Linked DNA regions of Homo sapiens: region 2 is linked to region 1. The links are contacts of gene promoters, found by promoter capture Hi-C in human tissues and cell types (Jung and others, 2019). All regions are on one chromosome and are shown on one strand. Each heading gives the region's core, a stretch centred on a gene start or on the middle of the fragment in contact. The rest is flanking DNA. Distances are from core to core; before and after follow the strand shown. Region 1 holds the start of KCNG4 (potassium voltage-gated channel modifier subfamily G member 4). Region 2 overlaps MBTPS1 (membrane bound transcription factor peptidase, site 1).

What was found. The method cuts DNA at HindIII sites, captures the fragments that hold promoters and counts their contacts. A contact is called where the count stands out against the background at its distance.
Region 2: a contact is called between a fragment that was not itself captured here and the fragment with the promoter of KCNG4 in region 1, in 5 of the 25 tissues and cell types used here (IMR-90 fibroblasts, aorta, bladder and 2 more).

The regions. Positions count from the first base shown.
Region 1 is chr16:84,238,253-84,241,469 of GRCh38, reverse strand. It overlaps KCNG4 (potassium voltage-gated channel modifier subfamily G member 4), which reads left to right and starts at 1,458. Exons shown (of 3, transcript NM_172347.3): 1 at 1,458-1,800. The HindIII fragment of the contact is 8,358 bases long and covers 1-3,217 here.
Region 2 is chr16:84,098,888-84,102,104 of GRCh38, reverse strand. It overlaps MBTPS1 (membrane bound transcription factor peptidase, site 1), which reads left to right. Exons shown (of 23, transcript NM_003791.4): 2 at 1-484; 3 at 2,795-3,052. The coding sequence starts at 322. Among named protein-coding and RNA genes, the nearest start is that of MBTPS1, 16 kb to the left of the region's middle. The HindIII fragment of the contact is 3,194 bases long and covers 1-3,055 here.

The sequences.
Region 1 (3,217 bases), core at 209-2,708:
AGCAATACCATTTGAAAACCGCAATACCAGATGGACCTCCATTCAGTCAGTTCTCTTCTCTGCTTGGATTCGTTCCCATTGCCAAGGCCACAGAGAGCCCACCTAGGTCAGCAGCACCTGTCATCCCCTTGCAGGCAGCTGTGGAAGGCTCACCCTCTAATCTCCCTCACTCCTGGATCCTCCCATCAAAACTCAAGCGTCTGTTAAGTGATGGTTCTTTTTTTTTTTTTTTTTTTTTGAGACAGAGTCTCACTTTGTCACCCAGGCTGGAGTGTAGTGGCGCGACCTCAGCTCACTGCAACCTCCGCCTCCCGGATTCAAGCAATTCTCCTGCCTCAGCCTCCCGAGTAGCTGGGATTACAGGCACCCGCCACCATGCCCAGCTAATTTTTGTATTTTTAGTAGAGACAGGGTTTCAGTACGTTGGCCAGGCTGGTCTCAAACTCCTGACCTTGTGATCTGCCCGCCTCCGCCTCCAAAGTTCTGGGATGACAGCTGTGAGCCACCACACCCGGCCTAAGTGATGGTTCTAACCAGCAAGATGACCTTGAGCAAGCCTCTTCTCAGGGCCTCAACTATCAAATGCAGTGAAGATAACACATTCAGAAGCCAAGAGCCTGGGCTGCAAAACCTCTTAAGAAAGTGAAGAACAGTCAACGTGTAGTGAGCAACTACAAGATGCTGGTTTTACAATTGCAGCCATCGCTGGTTTCACTGTCCTCATTTGACTGAGAAACCCAAGGCCCAGAGAGGGGAAGTGACTGACCAAGAACACACAGCCAGGCAGTGCAGAGTCCAAGTTCACACCCAGGCCCTGGACTGATGCCTCTTCCTTTTCACCCACCCAACCATCCAACCAGCACAGGAGCTTGCACTTATGGTTCTGACCTTCCCTGAACCCTCTCTCATTCCCATGTTTTAGAGACAAGACAATTGAGGCTCAGAAGCACTAACTCACCTGGCCAAGGTCACCCAGCCTTTCACATAGGAGCCAGGATCCAGGCATGTGTGTGAATTCCAAGCTCGGAGCTCTTCCTATTGCTGTTCTGTAACACAGCCCCCCTGACTCCCACCCAGCGCTCAGAGCCTGGGCTTCTGTCTGAACCTGTCCCAGGCCTGGGCTGCTTAAAAGCAGCAAAAAGTTCCTCCTGCAGCTTCAACTTGAGCCTGTCACCATCATCAGCATACCCCGAGAGACTCTGGGGTGCCTGGGACAGGTAGCTGCAGATGCCTCCGGCCCCAAGTTGCCCTCTGCTCCTCCCGAGTTGTGCTCCTCCATGCCAGAGGAGGGAGGACAGCTCCCCTTGCCTCCTAGGCGGTTGGCAGAGTGGCAGCGGCTGCTGCTTCTTCCTGCTGCTGGCTGATGGAGAGATTATTTCTAAGCCCTTCCCATTCCACACCCCCCCACACTGGCTGTCCCCGTGGGACTTGAAGTGCAGAGTCCGCTGCTCAACCAGGACAGCTGCCCTGGCTCCCTCCCAGCAAGAACCCCCAGACCCTCATCTCTCATAAGGAAAGGGACTTCTGGGTCCTTTAAAAAAAAAAAAAAATCCCACCTCAATCCCCCAGGGCTCTCCTGCAGCTGCTGGAGAGAGAGATGCAGAATGAATGAACTTCTGGTTTCTGGAGGAGGCACGGGAAGAAAGATTGGAAACTGACTCTGCTAGAAACTGCTGTTTTGGGGATTTTTTTCTTCCCCTTCATCTCCACCAGAAACCTGTCCCTTCCCTGGGCACCAAGAGATGGGCTCCCCTTGCCTGGCAGAGAAACAGCTGGAAACTGGCTCCCTGAGACAAGAAGGTGAGTTAAACTGGAGGGGAAGAGTTACTGCTTGCTGTAGGGTGGGCGGGGGCCAGGGGGAAGTTGACGCTGTTAGACATCCTTGGCAAAAGTGCTGGTTTGAGTGAATTCCTTTCCCGTGCTCCAGAAGGAGCTGTTTGCCAGCTGTTTGGAGAGCCGTAGATGGCAAAATTGGGTTTATTCAGTGAATGCAGAAAGGGCAGTTTTCAGGTTCTGGAAGGAGCCCCAGGCTGGGGGACAGAGTGCTGGGTTGGATTCGGATTTGCTGTGTGACCTTGGACAAGTTACTTCCGCTCGCTGGGTCTTGGTTTTTGCACTGGGAAAATGAGGAAGCTTGCAAAGGGCTCCCCAGATTTCAAAATACTCTTCTCTCTGCAGGCTCCTCATCCTCCTCTGGCCATTCCCTGTGAGCAAAGTAATGCATTCAGAGCAACAGAATGTTGTGTAGGGAGCAAGAGTGTGAAATAGGTTACGATTCACTCTCCACTATCCACCGGAATCCAACCGGCTCTGAAATTGAGAGGAACTTTGATTTCCGTTCCACTGCCGAGTTTTTCTCTTGATTGGAGTGGAGTGCATCTGAAAATGTAAGCTTATAGATGCTTTGGAAATGGCTTTGGCTAGAATGAATAGCATAAGAAATGGTTGCAGGATCTGAAGGTGAGAAATATTATGAAAAGGACTTTTTAAATATGTGAAGTGGCTAAATCTAAAACACTCACACTAAGTCAAGCACCTCATATAGGTCTGAAATGGAGACAGCATTAGAGGCCCCGTCATTTTTTTTTGTTTTTTTCTTTTTGAGATGGAGTCTCGCTCTGTTGTCCAGGCTGGAGTGCAATGGCGCAATCTCGGCTTACTGCAGCCTCCGCCTCCCGGGTTCAAGCGATTCTCCTGCCTCAGCCTCCCGAGTAGCTGGGACTACAGGTACATGCCACCTTGCCTAGCTAATTTTTGTATTTTTAGTAGATACAGGGTTTCATTGGCCAGGCTGGTCTCGAACTCCTGACCTCAGATGATCTGCCTGCCTCTGCCTCGCAAAGTGCTGGGATTACAGGCATGAACCACTGCGGCTGGAGGCCCCTTCATTCTGCACATAAAAGCCTGCGGGCCCAGAGAGGGGGAGTAACTGGCTGGAGGTCACACAGCAAGGATGGCTGAGGCAAGCACGCAACGAACATGGAGGAGTACTGTGATTGCAAGTACGCAATGCTCCTCCGTCCCCTTAGCAAAGGCCTCCCCAAATGGGGAAGCGACCAAGAGGGATTAAGCGAGACTGGTGGAGTTCCTCCTGAGACCTAGATGCTTGGATGCTCGCTAAGCATAGTCACATTCCTGGGCTACTCGAACCTTTAATAACAGACCCTCGCTGAACCTTCCTGATGTCAGGTGCTTGCTAAACAGTAGGCAAGACACG
Region 2 (3,217 bases), core at 209-2,708, 140 kb after region 1:
GGCTCACAGTGGTTGATTGATCAACCCCATTGGACGTTGGTTCTGTGGTACAAATGGAGTACAGGACTCAGTCGTCACGGCCTGAGTGAGAGAAGCCTTATTTCCAAGATGGAGAAGAAGCGGAGAAAGAAATGAAAGCCTCTCTTCAGGCTGAACCACAAAAGGCCATGGGATTTAACTTTTATTTATGTTGGGCAAGACTGTAAGATGGCTGATTAGTAATGTTGCAGCTTTTAGCTGAAACAAAAATTCACTTTTAATCAAGAAGAAAAAAGTGTGATTTGAATATATGCAATTTTATGATCATATTCGCTTGTGACCATGAAGCTTGTCAACATCTGGCTGCTTCTGCTCGTGGTTTTGCTCTGTGGGAAGAAACATCTGGGCGACAGACTGGAAAAGAAATCTTTTGAAAAGGCCCCATGCCCTGGCTGTTCCCACCTGACTTTGAAGGTGGAATTCTCATCAACAGTTGTGGAATATGGTAATGATGTTGTCTTAAGTATTAGGAACTCCCATCCTATTTTTTTAAAGCTTACTTAATATAAAATTAGCTATTGCTGAATAACATGTTCCTCTTTTCTACAGTAAATTTCTTTCTTTTTTTTTTTTTTGAGACAGAGTCTCACTCTGTCACCCAGGCTGGAGTGCAGTGGCATGATCTCGGCTCACTGTAACCTCCACCTCCTGGATTCAAGCAATTCTCATGCCTCAGCCTCCCAAGTAGCTGGGATTATAGGTGACTGCCACCGTCCCTGGCTAATTTTTTGTTTTGATTTGTTCTGTTTTGTTTTGTTTTGTTTTTGAGATGGAGTCTCACTCTGTTGCTGAGGCTGGAGTGCAATGGCACGATCTCGGTTCACTGCAACTTCCACCTCCCAGGTTCAAGCAGTTCTCCTGCCTCAGCCTCCTGAGCAGCTGGGACTACAGGCACCCGCCACAACTCCCAGTTAATTTTTTCTATTTTTAGTAGAGATGGGGTTTCACCACATTGGCCAGGCTGGTCTCGAGCTCCTGACCTCGTGATCCGCCTGCCTTGGCCTCCCAGAGTGTTGGGACTACAGGCATGAACTATCGTGCCAGGCCTTTTTTTTTTTTTTTTTTTGTATTTTTAGTAGAGACGGGGTTTCAGCATGTTAGCCAGGCTGGTCTTGAACTCCTGACCTCAAGTGATCACCCTCCTTGGCCTCCCAAAGTGCTGGGATTACAGGCATGAGCCACCGTGCCTGGCCTTCTGTAGTAAATTTCCAATGGGTTGAGTGCACAGCACATGAATGTTAACTTTGCTTAAGTTTGTTTTCCCAGTAGAGTAAGCTTATATGATAAAAGGAAATTGACATGAATTATTTACCTACACCTTCTTTTCTTTTTCTTTTGGAGACAGAGTTTTGCTCTTGTCGCCCAGGCTGGAGTGCAGTGGTGCCATCTCAGCTCATTGCAGCCTTGGCCTCCCAGGCACAAGTGGTCTCCCACTTCAGCCTCCTGAGTAGCTGGGACTACAGGCACCTGCCACCGTGCCCAGCTAATTTTTTTATTTTTGTTTTTTCTTTTTTCTTTTTTGAGATGGAGATTCACTCTTGTTGCCCAGGCTGGAGTGCAATGGCACCATCTCAGCTCACCGCAACCTCCACCTCCCAGGTTCAAGCGATTCTCCTGCCTCAGCCTCCCGAGTAGCTGGGATTACAGGCATGTGCCACCATGCCCGGCTAATTTTGTCTTTTTAGTAGAGACTGCGTTTCTCCATGTTGGTCAGGCTGGTCTTGCACTCTTGACCTCAGGTGATCCTCCTGCATTGGCCTCCCAAAGTGTTGGGATTACAGGCATGAGCCACTGTGCCCGGCCTGCCCAGCTAATTTTTTTATTTTTTGTTTCACCATGTTGCCCAGGCTGGTCTTAAACTCCTGAGCTCAAGCAATCCATCCACTTCGACCTCCCAGAATGCTGGGATTATAGGCATGAGCCACTGTGCCCAGCCTACACCTTGATTCTTTGGAACAGGTGCCATTGTAATTGGTGAAGGTGGGGAGCTGGGAGGTGCAGAATGTTTATGTTCTAAAGTTTGAGTGACCAGATGTGAAGAACTGAGCAAATAGTCTCACATAATCCACTCTGGAATTTTGTTACTGTTTTCGTTTTAAGAAACACTAACTGAGCATTCAGTTCTCTGAATTTCTTTTTCCTACTTGATAAAAATTATATACATTTCTTTGTTGTGTATTCAAACTTCTGTAGGTATTTGCTTTTTAAAAAAATATCACGGGTATCTGGTTTCGAATGATGTATTCTTTGTGGTTAGGTGATTCATAGAGATCTTTTTTTTTTTTTTTTTGAGACGGAGGCTTGCTCTGTCACCAGGCAGGAGTGCAGTGGTGCAATCTCTGCTTACTGCAATCTCCGCCTCCCAGGTTCAAGTGATTCTCCTGCCTTAGCCTCCCAGGATTATAGGCGCCCACCACCACACCCAGCTAATTTTTTGTATTTTTAGTAGAGATGGGGTTTCACTATGTTGGCCAGGCTGGTCTCAAACTCCTCACCTCGTAATCTGCCCACGTCAGCCTCCCAAAGTGCTGGGATTACAGGCGTGAGCCACCGCGCCCAGCCCCATATAGATCATTTTTCCTCAAAGCTCTGCAGACAGCTGTCTAGGTACTTAAACTAGTCTTTGTGTTTTCTCTCGTCTGCTGTGGGCTTTAAGATAATTTTTCTTTTGCCAGATTTTAGATTAGATACAATATAGTATATGTTATAATGTATGTGCGTAAATCTTATTTTTGTTTGTGGTGATTGGTTTCAGAATATATTGTGGCTTTCAATGGATACTTTACAGCCAAAGCTAGAAATTCATTTATTTCAAGTGCCCTGAAGAGCAGTGAAGTAGACAATTGGAGAATTATACCTCGAAACAATCCATCCAGTGACTACCCTAGTGATTTTGAGGTGATTCAGATAAAAGAAAAACAGAAAGCGGGGCTGCTAACACTTGAAGATCATCCAAACATCAAACGGGTCACGCCCCAACGAAAAGTCTTTCGTTCCCTCAAGTATGCTGAATGTGAGTATTGTGACTGTAGGCAAATTTCTCTCTGCTGTTTACTTTGAAAATCTCAAACTGCAGAGTAGTTGAAAAATAGTACAGTGAGTATCCGCATCCTTCCATCTAGTTTGCTAATTGTGAACATTTTCCTGGTAGGAATTTTTTAGTTTAGTTTTGTTTAGT